Regions from separate parts of the Homo sapiens genome. Here regions 1, 2 and 3 are each linked to region 4. Evidence: promoter capture Hi-C in 16 types of primary human blood cells and fetal thymus (Javierre and others, 2016). All regions are on one chromosome and are shown on one strand. Each heading gives the region's core, a stretch centred on a gene start or on the middle of the fragment in contact. The rest is flanking DNA. Distances are from core to core; before and after follow the strand shown.

Region 1 (3,284 bases), core at 346-2,845, 320 kb after region 4:
CTTTCAGAGGCCGAGGCGGGAGGACTGCTTGAGCTCAGGAGCCTGAGGCCAGCCTGGGCAACATAGTGAAACCCTGTTTCTGAAAAAAAAAAAAAAAAAAATTTAGGTCAGGTGCGGTGGCTCGCACCTGTAATCCCAGCACTTTGGGAGGCTGAAGTGGGAGGATCACCTGAGGTCAGGACTTTGAGACCAGCCTGGCCAACACGGTGAAAGCCCATCTCTACTAAAAATACGAAAATTTGCCAGATGTGGTGGCATGCGCCTATAATCCCAGCTATTCACAAGGCTGAGGCAGGAGAATCGCTTGAACCCAGGAGGCCGAGGTTTCGGTGAGCTGAGATCACGCCACTGCACTCCAGCCTGGGTGACAGAGTGAGACTCCGTCTAAATTAAAAAAAAAAAATTTCATTAGCCAGGCATGGTGGTGAAAGCCTATAGTCCCAGCTACTTGGGAGGCTGAGGTGGGAGGATCACTTGAGCCCAGGGAGTTCAGGCTGCAGTGAGTTATGATTGTGCCACTGCACTCCAGCCTGGCAGAAAGAGCATCTGAGACCCTGTCTCAAAAAAAAAAAATGCAGCAAGTACAATTATTATTATTATTATTTTTTTTTTTTTTTGAGACGGAGTCTCGCTCTGTCGCCCAGGCTGGAGTGCAGTGGCTCAATCCGGCTCACTGCAAGCTCCGCCTCCCGGGTTCACACCATTCTCCTGCCTCAGCCTCCCGAGTAGCTGGGACTACAGGCGCCCACCACCTCGCCGGGCTAATTTTTTGTATTTTTAGTAGAGACGGGGTTTCACTGTGTTAGCCAGGATGGTCTCGATCTCCTGACCTCGTGATCCGCCCACCTCGACCTCCCAACGTGCTGGGATTACAGGCGTGAGCCACTGCACCCAGCCACAAGTACAATTATTAATAGTAGTTGCCATTTGCTGAGTGTGTGCTACATACCATGCGCCAGTGCTAGACACTTTCATGCATCATATGTAATGCTTACAATAACTTCCAAAGTTGATGTTTTTATTTTCCTTTTACGGAAAAGTAAACAACTTGGAGCAATCAGGGAATTAATTGGTCTTACAGCCACTACTCAAGTCCAGACCTCTCAGACTCCAAAGCTCATCCTCTTTCTATTGCATCATGCTGTGTCTTGAACTGCATACAGTGTTCCATAAACAATCTGGAAGGCAGGCACGTGCGCGCGCGCGCGCGCACACACACACACACACACACACACACACACACACACACACACCTCCTACAGAATTATATATGTAGCTGGGGTGAAGGGAAAACTTCCCGTCTGCCCGCTGAAGGTTCATTGAAAAGCACTGACAAGAGGCAGATTAATAGGAGAAAAGGCATACAAATTTAATAAACTGTTCAAGAGTGTCCAATCTTTTTGCTTCCCTGAGCCACACTGGAAGAAGAAGAATTATCTTGGGCCACACATAAAATACACTAACAACAGCTGATGAGCTAAAAAAAAAAATAGAATAAAATCACAATAAAATCTCATAATAGCAGGGCATGGTGGCTCACAGCTGTAATTCCAGCACTTCAGAAGTCTGAGGTGGGTGGATCACTGAGGTCAGGAGTTCGAGACCAGCCTGGCCAACATGGTGAAACCCCGTCTCTACTAAAAATACAAAAATTAGCCAGGCGTGGTGGCGTGGGCCTGTAATCCCAGCTACTCGGGAGGCTGAGGCACAAGAATCGCTGGAACCCGGGAGGCGGAGGTTGCAGTGAGCTGAGATTGCGCTACTGTACTCCAGCCTGGGTGACAGAGCAAGATTGTCTCAAAAAAAAAAAAACAAAAAACAAACAAACAAAAACCACAGTTCCTCCTGCCCATCTCTTTGAAGGGGGTCTTAAGGTTCAGGAGAATCTATGAGAAAATGTAAATACGGCTTGGCACAGTGGCTCACACCTATAATCCCAGCACTTTGGGAGTCCAAGATAGGCAGATCACCTGAGGTCAGGAGTTTGAGACAAACCTGACAAACGTGGCAAAACCCTGTCTCTACTAAAAATACAAAATTAACCAGGTGTGGTGGCGCATGCCTGTAATCCCAGCTATTCACGTGGCTGAGGCAGGAGAATCGCTTGAACCCAGGAGGCGGAGGTTGTGGTGAGCCAAGATTGTGCCACTGCACTCCAGCCTGGGCGACAGAGCAAGACTCCATCTCAAAAAAAAAGAAAGAAAGAAAAGAAGAAAGAAAGAGAGAGAGAGGAAGGAAGGAAGGAAGGAAGGGAGGGAGGGAGGGAGGGAGGGAGGGAGGGAAGGGAAGGAAATAAATGTAAATACCTTTTAGAGGATAAAACTTTAAACTACTCTTAATTGAGTGTAGGCAGCAGTCATGTGAGAAAAAGTCCCTTCTAGCAGAGATGAGCAGGGGAAGAGAACTAACATTTTAATGGGAGACTCCTATGTGCTTTCACAATGCTAGCTGCTTTCCTCAGTGTCTTCTTTAATTCCCATTTTGCGGATGGAAACACTAAGGCTCAGAAGGTAATTTTCTCAAGCTCCCAGAGGTCCTTTGATAAGTGCCTGAGGTGCATGCAAAAGCTCCCACTTAGGGAGAGCTTGCGGCTTCCCTGAAGGCATTCTGCCTGTGCCTAAGGAGGCAGTCCTTACCACTGCCACCACTCAGCACCTCTTCCCATAGGTAAATGCTGCAACAGAATCCTAGCAGAGACTATTCCCTTACTTGCAATTCTGCCACTAATTAGTTTTGTGACGTGACATCTCAATTCTCTGGGGTGCAATCTCCTCATAAGTTAAACTGATGATCTCTAAAGTCTTTCCTAACAAAGATGAATCTTCCAGTGCCCACGCAATCCAAGGCTAGCCACAGGATGGTCAGACTGCCCCTTTCCTCTCACCCATCAGATGGCAGACAAGCTCAGCAGCCCCCATGAGCACTGCTAAGCCTTGGAGTTAAAGACAGAGGCCGGACGCGGTGGCTCACACCTGTAATCCCAGCACTTTGGGAGGCTGAGGCGGGTGGATCATAAGGGGTCAGGAATTCGAGACGAGCCTGGCCAACATGGTGAAACCCCGTCTCTACTAAAGATACAAAAAATTAGCTGAGCATGGTGGCGCCTGCCTGTAATCCCAGCTACTTGAAAGGCTGAGGCAGGAGAATCGTTTGAACCTGGGAGGCGGAGGTTACAGCGAGCTGAGATGACGCCATTGCATTCCAGCCTGAGCAACAGGGCGAGACTCCGTCTGGGGAAAAAAAAAATAGAACCCAGGACCGGGCGCGGTGGCTCATGCCTGTAA
Region 2 (3,057 bases), core at 64-2,563, 340 kb after region 4:
CAGTTTTTTCCTGTTGTGAACGCATTTCCTTCTTTTCCAACTATCCCAGCAATTTTGCATTACTAAGTCAGCTCTATCACCTGCCAAGAAACCTACCCTTCCAGCTGGGCATGGTGGCTCACACCTGTAATCCCAGCACTTTGGGAGGCCGAGGCGGGCAGATCACCTGAAGTCAGGAGTTCGAGACCAGCCTGACCAACGTGGAGAAACCCCATCTCTTCTAAAAATACAAAATTAGCTGGGCCTGGTGGCACATGCCTGTAATCCCAGCTACTCAGGAGGCTGAGGCAGGAGAATCACTTGAACCCGGGAGGCGGAGGTTGTGGTGAGCCAAGATCATGCCATTGCACCCCAGCCTGGGCAAAAAGAGTGAAACTCCGTCTCAAAGAAAAAAAAAAAAGAAACAAAACGAAACCTACCCTACAGAGTACAACAGGATGTGGGGCCAACAACACCCTACAAACATTTTTCTGTTTTGTTTTGTCTTGTTTTGAGGCAGAGTCTCACTCTGTCCCTAGGCTGGAGTGCAGTGGCATGATCTTGGCTCACTGGAACCTCTGCCTCCTGGGTTCCAGCGATTCTTCTGCCTCAGCCTCTTTAGTAGCTGGGACTACAGGCATATGCCACCACACCCAGCTAATTTTTGTATTTTTAGTAGAGACAGGGTTTCACCATATTGGCCAGGATGGTCTCGATCTCTTGACCTCGTGATCCACCCGCCTCGGCATCCCAAAGTACTGGGATTACAGGCATGAGCCACTGCACCGAGCCGCAAATATTTATTTATTTCATTTTATTTTTTTGAGACAGAATCTTGTTATGTTGCCCAGGCTGGAGTGCAGTGGCATAATCTCCACTCACTGCAATCTCTGCCTCCCAGGTTCAAGTGATTCTGCTGCCTCAGCCTCCTGAGTAGCTGGGTTTACAGGCGCACACCACCACACCTAGTTTTTTCTTTCTTTCTTTTTTTTTTTGAGACGGAGTTTCGCTCTTGTTGCTCAGACTGCAGTGCAATGCCGTGATCTTGGCTCATTGCAACCTCCGCCTCCCGGGTTCAAGCAATTCTCCTGCCTCAGCCTCCCGAGTAGCTGGGATTATAGGCATGCGCCATCACGCCCGGCTAATTTTGTATTTTTAGTAGAGACGGGGTTTCACCATGTTGGTCAGGCTGGTCTTGAACTCCCAACCTCAGGTGATCTGCCCACCTCGGCCTCCCAAAGGACTGGGATTATAGGCGTGAGCCACCACGTCAGGCCACCTGTCTAATTTTTGTATTTTTTAGTAGAGACAGGGTTTCACCATGTTGGCCAGGCTGGTCTCAAACTCCTGACTTCAAGTGATCTGCTTGCCTTGGCGTCCCAAAATGCTGGGATTACAGTTGTGAGCCACCGCACCCAGTTACATTTTTTTCTTTTTTTAAATTTTATTTGTTGAGACAGGGTCTCACTCTGTCACCCAGGCTGGAGTACAGTGGCGCAGTCTTGGCTCACTATAGCCTCAACCTCCTGGGCTCAAGCAAACCACCAGCCTTGGTCTCCCAAAGTGCTTGGATTACAGGCGTGAACCACCACGCATCTGGCCCCCACAAATATTTAGAACAAACAAGTACCACATCCAGGAGAAGGGCTGTGATCCTAGCTCTTCCCCATCTGTGCCTAAAGCAGAGGGCTTTCCCTTGAGTGCTAGGAACCCCATGGAATTATCTGCAAAATAATATGTGAGTTTTTTCTGGGTCAGAGTTCATAGGTTTTATCTGATTGAGAGAACCTTCTCAGGAAAGGCTCTGAAGAGCTGTGGAGCAACACGTGATCAAAGGCAGGGTTGAGGGCTTGAGTGAAACAATTTGGAACAGCTGCAGCTGAAATGTGCCTGGGAGATGCCCATATGCTTGCATGCCTTTTTTAGTGCCCTTCTGTGTAGCTGGAATGCTCCCTCCAGGCCTTTTCTCCTTGCCTCTCAAAGCCTAGCTCAAATGCCACCAACTTGTCTGGGACACTCTCCTTGATACTATTTCAAATAAATCATTTCTTTTTCTCTGTTTAATAGTCTTTCCTTGTTAATCTCACTTGATTATAAATCACTTGAACCAAAGAAGAGATTTGCCAGGCGCAGTGGCTCACACCTGTAATCCCAGCACTTTGGGAAGCCGAGGAGGGTGGATCACCTGAGGTCAGGACTTTGAGACCAGCCTGGCCAGAATGGTGAAACCCCATCTCTACTAAAATAAAAAATTAGGGCCAGGCGCAGTGGCTCACACCTGTAATCCCAGCACTTTGGGAGGCTGAGGCAGGCAGATCATCTGAGGTCAGGAGTTCAAGACCAGCCTGGCCAACATGGAGAAACCCCAGCTCTACTAAAAATACAAAAATGAGCGAGTCATGGTGGCATGCATCTGTAATCCCAGCTACTCAGGAGACTGAGGCAGAAGAATTGCTTGAACCCAGGAGACAGAGGTTGCAGTGAGCCAGGATCGCACCATTGTACTCCAGACCGGGCGACAAGAGTGAGACTCTATCTCAAAAAAAAAACAAAAAAAAAAAAACATAAAAAATTAGTTCGGCTTAGTGAAATAGGGCAAAGGAAGCAATCAGATATGCATTTATCTCATGTGTGCAGAGGGGTAACTGTGAGTTCTGTCTGTCCTTTGTCCACAAGCAGTCACCTTGTGGGCAAATTGTGCAGGAGTACTGTAAGCTTTTTTTTTTTTTTTTTTTTTATCTTTGTAGCTATCTTATTTCTTATTCAGGAATAGAATGGAAGGCAGGCCAGGCGTGGTGGCTCATGTCTGTAATCCCAGCACTTTGGGAGGCCAAGGAGGGTGGATCACCTGAGGCCAAGAGTTCAAGACCAGCCTGGCCAACATGGCGAAACCCTGTCTCTACCAATAATACAAAAGTTAGCCGGGCATGGTGGTGTACACCTGTAATCCCAGCTACTCAGGAGGCTGAGGCAGGAGAACTGCTTGAACCCAGGAAGCGGAGGTTACAGTGAGCCAAGATTGTGCCACTGCACTTCAGCCTGGGTGACGGAGCGAGACTGTCTCAAAAATAAATAAAT
Region 3 (3,168 bases), core at 603-3,102, 370 kb after region 4:
CCTGCAGTTGGTATTGATCTTGGCACCACCTACTCTTGTGTGGGTGTTTTCCAGCACGGAAAAGTCGAGATAATTGCCAATGATCAGGGAAACCGAACCACTCCAAGCTATGTCGCCTTTACGGACACTGAACGGTTGATCGGTGATGCCGCAAAGAATCAAGTTGCAATGAACCCCACCAACACAGTTTTTGGTGAGTTCCTAATTTTAAATGACAGAACAAATATAACAGGGCTAGGAAGCACAAAAGTTTATGAAACGTGAGGAGGGAACTTTTTGATTTTAGAAAAACTGAGCTGAGAGACTTGTTATCAAGTCTGTTATAAAACAGGTTGTAGAAACCTTTCAGGCTGAAATCTGGATAACGTAGGAGGTTGAAGTTTGAACCTTTGCTACCTATATGGTAGTTGAATTCACCTACCTATGAACTGTTAGGTATTTGAGTAATCATGGACTTGAGTTTTATCAGAAGAGCTATGAAATTGAAAGTGTTTTCATTTGACACCTTTTACAGATGCCAAACGTCTGATTGGACGCAGATTTGATGATGCTGTTGTCCAGTCTGATATGAAACATTGGCCCTTTATGGTGGTGAATGATGCTGGCAGGCCCAAGGTCCAAGTAGAATACAAGGGAGAGACCAAAAGCTTCTATCCAGAGGAGGTGTCTTCTATGGTTCTGACAAAGATGAAGGAAATTGCAGAAGCCTACCTTGGGAAGGTGAGGTTGGTTTTTCAGTATGGGGTGCATTCCGGAGTAGTTAAAAGCCCGATGACTCCCGGGGGCACTGGCACCTGGCGAGGGAGGGGAACAGATGGGGCTCAGCTCAGGGTTAAGACCACGTGCCCAACAGTGCCCTAGGCTCTCTAGGTAGATGGGTCTGTCAACACCAGAAACCAGTGAATCTTGACAATTACACAGTAATTTACATTTTGGTGGGGGGGGTGCTCCAGCTGTTCTTTCACCAGCATTAATCCATTTGCTGGAGTTTGCATATATGTAAGTATAATAGTTACCAATCTGTGGTCTTTTCCTTATTCCTAGACTGTTACCAATGCTGTGGTCACAGTGCCAGCTTACTTTAATGACTCTCAGCGTCAGGCTACCAAAGATGCTGGAACTATTGCTGGTCTCAATGTACTTAGAATTATTAATGAGCCAACTGCTGCTGCTATTGCTTACGGCTTAGACAAAAAGGTATGTACCATTTGTGATGCAAGTTCGGATTATTTTAAGATTAATTTGATCCATCGTAAATTTAAATGAGATTGTTTTTAACGGCAGGTTGGAGCAGAAAGAAACGTGCTCATCTTTGACCTGGGAGGTGGCACTTTTGATGTGTCAATCCTCACTATTGAGGATGGAATCTTTGAGGTCAAGTCTACAGCTGGAGACACCCACTTGGGTGGAGAAGATTTTGACAACCGAATGGTCAACCATTTTATTGCTGAGTTTAAGCGCAAGCATAAGAAGGACATCAGTGAGAACAAGAGAGCTGTAAGACGCCTCCGTACTGCTTGTGAACGTGCTAAGCGTACCCTCTCTTCCAGCACCCAGGCCAGTATTGAGATCGATTCTCTCTATGAAGGAATCGACTTCTATACCTCCATTACCCGTGCCCGATTTGAAGAACTGAATGCTGACCTGTTCCGTGGCACCCTGGACCCAGTAGAGAAAGCCCTTCGAGATGCCAAACTAGACAAGTCACAGATTCATGATATTGTCCTGGTTGGTGGTTCTACTCGTATCCCCAAGATTCAGAAGCTTCTCCAAGACTTCTTCAATGGAAAAGAACTGAATAAGAGCATCAACCCTGATGAAGCTGTTGCTTATGGTGCAGGTAACAATGGTATCTCAATTAACCCTAAAGGCAGGCAGGCCCAAGGTGACTCGCTGTGATGAGTGATTGTTAAACATTCGTAGTTTCCACCAAAAGCTTGGCTAATGATGGCAACACCTTCCTTGGATGTCTGAGCGAGTGATAGTTAAAACAGGAGCTATGTACTGGGTTTTCTTTTAACTTCTTTTAACGTTAACTTTTTGTTTGCTAGCTGTCCAGGCAGCCATCTTGTCTGGAGACAAGTCTGAGAATGTTCAAGATTTGCTGCTCTTGGATGTCACTCCTCTTTCCCTTGGTATTGAAACTGCTGGTGGAGTCATGACTGTCCTCATCAAGCGTAATACCACCATTCCTACCAAGCAGACACAGACCTTCACTACCTATTCTGACAACCAGCCTGGTGTGCTTATTCAGGTATGTTTCTGTACTTCTCTTGTTTGGCTTACTGATAACAGATAAAGGGAAGTCTTGACTGACTCGCTATGATGATGGATTCCAAAACCATTCGTAGTTTCCACCAGAAAGTCTTATGTTGGCCAGTTCCTTCCTTGGATGTTTGAGCGACCATTCTTCCTTAGCAGGACCCTAGCACTGTCACAGACCTGGAGTCCATTGTAGTAATTTGTTTTATTTCCTACCAAGGTTTATGAAGGCGAGCGTGCCATGACAAAGGATAACAACCTGCTTGGCAAGTTTGAACTCACAGGCATACCTCCTGCACCCCGAGGTGTTCCTCAGATTGAAGTCACTTTTGACATTGATGCCAATGGTATACTCAATGTCTCTGCTGTGGACAAGAGTACGGGAAAAGAGAACAAGATTACTATCACTAATGACAAGGGTAAGGAGGCACTGTCATCTGGTCTTGACAGGGATAATGGTATTTCAATTGAGTTACTGGTGCCTAAGGGCGTCTAGCTAAGAGAAACTAGAGTTACACATACACAGGTAATTTAAGGCTTTTACTTAGAGTTAATTTCTTTCCTAGGCCGTTTGAGCAAGGAAGACATTGAACGTATGGTCCAGGAAGCTGAGAAGTACAAAGCTGAAGATGAGAAGCAGAGGGACAAGGTGTCATCCAAGAATTCACTTGAGTCCTATGCCTTCAACATGAAAGCAACTGTTGAAGATGAGAAACTTCAAGGCAAGATTAACGATGAGGACAAACAGAAGATTCTGGACAAGTGTAATGAAATTATCAACTGGCTTGATAAGAATCAGGTTTGTGTTTTTTTTTTTTTTTTTTCCTCCCCCACTCAATGGAGGGGAAGGGGATGGTAAACCAAGCTTGAGCTGGATTTCAGTGTAGGGTCACAATGATGAATGGT
Region 4 (3,046 bases), core at 13-2,512:
TCTGGAGGTACATGAAGTGCGCAACATAGTGGCCCGCACATGGTAAGGGCTCAATAACTATTAGCTGTTATTATTTTTATTATTTATTTCGCTGCGAGGATCAAGGGAGATGGAATGCAGCGTAAAGCCCCACGTAAACGTGTCGTGCAACATGAAGCCCCTCACCCTGAGTTGGGGAGCGGGTGGCACGCGTGGAAGCTGAATGCCACCATCCCTGGGACCAGGCGCAGCGCCCTCCAGAAGCGCCTCTGGTGACGGGCTCCTGTTCTCCCCCAGGACGTTTCCCCCAGAATGCCCCGGGGCCCTGGACGGCTCTGGAGAGGACGGGAGGGAAGGGAAGGAGACGGGCGGAACGGGGACGTACCTGCTTTCACTGCACTCCTTCCGCTCCCTCACCCTCAGCCACTTGCGGAGGAGGAAGCGTTTTCGGCGCGGGGACGCGCTGGGTGTGGAGCAGTTGGACCACGGGGTGTCCTCGTCGCTGGAGGGCGTGATCTCGATGGACGGCAGCTGCAGGAACTCCTTGCCGGGGGCCAAGACGGCGGGCAGGTCCCGGGCCAGCCCGGCCTCCAGGCTCTGCTCCTGTACGTTCTTCATGCGGCGCATCTTGAAGCGCCGGCGGCGAAGCGTGGGGGTCGACGAACTGGACCAGACCGGGCTGCCCTCGGGCGCACCCTGCGGCTCGGGCACCTGCAGGGCGGGCAGCGGCCGGTTCTCCATCATGTTGGCCGCCGGCATGGGGGCCGTCGCCTCTGCGCTCCCCCTGAGCCCTCCGCCAGCGGCCTGGTTCGCGTCTCCCTCTGGCTGTTCCCCACCCTCGGCCCCGCGGCACACTCCCCAATCCTGGGGCCGAAGGAACAAGTTCCTTTCCCGGAGCGCAGCGAGGAAGGGACGCGAGGGGACGCGGCGTAGCGCGCCGCCGCCCGGAGTCTAACTTTTCGGAGCGCGCGTCCTCCGGGCCGTCAGCCGCCGGCGAGGCCACCCGGGAGGGGCGGGAGCCGCCTGCCAGCCACTCGGCAGCCCTCCTGGGGCTCCCCTCGCGCGCCCGCTTGTTTTTCTTCCGCTGCGCTTCCTCGCTTGCTGGCGTCTTTGCCTTAGCGGGACTCGGCAGCCAGGGGCCCCAGGGGGCGGTGCAGCAAACTCTCAGCGGTTTGCGTTCAGCAGACCAGGTTGGGGAGCCGGCTTGGCGCTGCAGGGAGGTAGAGAGCGGGAGGAAGAGGCAGTGGTAGGAGGGAAAGGGAGAGAGAGACAGAGAGAGAGAGAGAGAGAGGAAGCGAGACACTGGATAAAAACAAAAAAGGAGGAGGAGGAGCGGGGGCTGGGGGCGGGGTGAGGGGGGCTATCCTGAATGGGCTAGCACTGGCAGCGACCGCTAGTGTAACTGTACACGGATTCCCTCGGGGAGGGACTCGACCTCCAAGTAAAGGCTGCTCCAATCAGCCTACTGAAATAGGATCACAAACCAAACTTTCTCAGGGCAACGATTGGCCAGGCAACTCCCATTAGTCGAACTCGGCTATTTCCTTGGGGGTGGGGGGTGCAGAGAAAGGGGAGTCAATGAATTCAGTCCTCACTCTCTCAGGCCACCCATGATACAGGGTTGAAGGAAAATGAGGAGACTTTTCAACTAGCTCTTGTCTCCTAAGAAAGGCAGTTTAAATTATTTGGGGGCGTGAGTAGTGGCACTGCAGGCCGGAGTATAGTCAGAGGAGGAAAGCAAGGTTGCTGGAGGCTGCTTCCAAAATGACAAGCTGAGAAGAGGACAGTTCTCCCGTGGCGGCGTGAGCTGAGGATACCAGACATGACATACCAAGGAAAGACAGACAACAGGGTCTGAGAGACAAAGGACACAGGACCAGTAAGGAAAATGGGGCCTGAACCCTGTACATGAGCCAGCTGCCAGTACCATAGCCGCGTCCCTAGCAAAGAATGAAATGAGGAGTCGGTGAGCACCCACAAAGCAATGCATCCAACAGAGCCCCAGGGAGTCGAGGGTACCCCCCCTTACATTGCTGAGGGCTGATTCAGTTCTGCTTCAGCCTGCCATGGACTGAGTCACAGAATCCAGTATGTCCCCATGTCATGGAACCTAGGAAGTCTGGTTCAGTCCTGGTAGCATCCCAAGATGTGCTGAACCACACTCACTCTCTAGACCCAGGCCCTAAGAGATCATCAACCCTAGAACCGATCCATCCTATTTAGGTGCTCTCTGTGGGCACTGAGTCTAACCCAGCCCAGCTCCTAGAGCAGGGCTGTAGCAGCCATTCTCCTCCTTCAACCCCAGCCCAATGCATTTGTCTCTTGGGTCAGTAACTGTTTTGTTTTGTTTTGTTTTTAAGAGACAAAGTCTCACTCTGTTGCCCAGGCTGGAGTGCAGTGGTGCAGTCATGGCTCACCGCAACCTTGAATTCCTGGGCTCAAGCTGTCCTCCCAGCTGAGCCTCCTGAGTAGCTGGGAGTACAGGTGCGCACCACCACACGCAGCTAAGTTTTATTTCTTTTTGTCGATATGAGGTCTTGCTATATTGCCCAGGCTGGTCTCAAACTCCTGGCCTCAAGTGATCTGCCCACCTTGGCCTCCCAAAGTGCTGAGATTACAGGCATGAGCCACCATGCCCAGCCTGGTCAGTAACTTTCAAAGAGATCATGAGAAGCACCCAAGAACATACCATGAAGTCCACAATCTGATCCACCCTTCTTTTCTGCCTCTCTCAGAGTCCAGTTTCCATCTGGGAGCCAATGCCCAGCTTCCGTGCCAGGACAAAAGTCACATTTCACAAGTGTCCCGAAGCTGAGGAAAATTCACATCCCTAAAGATCACAAGAATTCACTGCAAGTAAATACATCCCTGCAGTTCAGCAAGACATCAAGGATGACAGCTGGCTATGGATCTACCAAGCTCTGCAATGACACTTGTCAAGTATGGAAAAGCTCAAGGCATCCTGACATTACACAACTTTTGAGAGGCTGGGAAACCAAGGGAAATATTTCTTCCTCAGGGAGAGAGATACTGCGGCTGAAGAGCCAAGGCCAGGCCCTCCCATAAA

Evidence for each region. Contacts are between HindIII fragments. The CHiCAGO score rates a contact against its expected background, and 5 or more counts as called.
Region 1: a contact is called between a fragment that was not itself captured here and the fragment with the promoter of GRAMD1B in region 4, in 4 of 17 cell types (fetal thymus, M0 macrophages, M2 macrophages and 1 more). The highest score is 10.0, in fetal thymus.
Region 2: a contact is called between a fragment that was not itself captured here and the fragment with the promoter of GRAMD1B in region 4, in 2 of 17 cell types (fetal thymus and endothelial precursors). The highest score is 12.3, in fetal thymus.
Region 3: a fragment that was not itself captured here is called in contact with the fragment with the promoter of GRAMD1B in region 4 in 1 of 17 cell types (fetal thymus); the score reaches 5.3 in fetal thymus.

The regions. Positions count from the first base shown.
Region 1 is chr11:123,104,352-123,107,635 of GRCh38, reverse strand. The region is part of intron 1 of CLMP (CXADR like cell adhesion molecule); the gene reads left to right. Among named protein-coding and RNA genes, the nearest start is that of HSPA8, 44 kb to the right of the region's middle. The HindIII fragment of the contact is 4,616 bases long and covers 1-3,284 here.
Region 2 is chr11:123,085,255-123,088,311 of GRCh38, reverse strand. All of the region lies in intron 2 of CLMP (CXADR like cell adhesion molecule), which reads left to right. Among named protein-coding and RNA genes, the nearest start is that of HSPA8, 25 kb to the right of the region's middle. The HindIII fragment of the contact is 2,767 bases long and covers 1-2,696 here.
Region 3 is chr11:123,058,145-123,061,312 of GRCh38, reverse strand. HSPA8 (heat shock protein family A (Hsp70) member 8) reads left to right here. Exons shown (of 9, transcript NM_006597.6): 2 at 1-193; 3 at 515-720; 4 at 1,045-1,197; 5 at 1,285-1,840; 6 at 2,052-2,254; 7 at 2,483-2,681; 8 at 2,829-3,061. It overlaps SNORD14D (small nucleolar RNA, C/D box 14D), which reads left to right and starts at 2,318; the gene lies at 2,318-2,404. It overlaps SNORD14C (small nucleolar RNA, C/D box 14C), which reads left to right and starts at 1,891; the gene lies at 1,891-1,978. SNORD14E (small nucleolar RNA, C/D box 14E) reads left to right here and starts at 3,157; the gene lies at 3,157-3,168. The HindIII fragment of the contact is 172 bases long and covers 1,767-1,938 here.
Region 4 is chr11:123,428,485-123,431,530 of GRCh38, reverse strand. GRAMD1B (GRAM domain containing 1B) reads right to left here and starts at 1,262. Exons shown (of 20, transcript NM_001387025.1): 1 at 365-1,262. The coding sequence starts at 738. LOC124902776 (a long non-coding RNA gene) reads left to right here and starts at 317. Exons shown (of 2, transcript XR_007062928.1): 1 at 317-584; 2 at 2,715-3,046. RefSeq lists silencers at 635-684, 795-1,124. The HindIII fragment of the contact is 5,032 bases long and covers 1-3,046 here.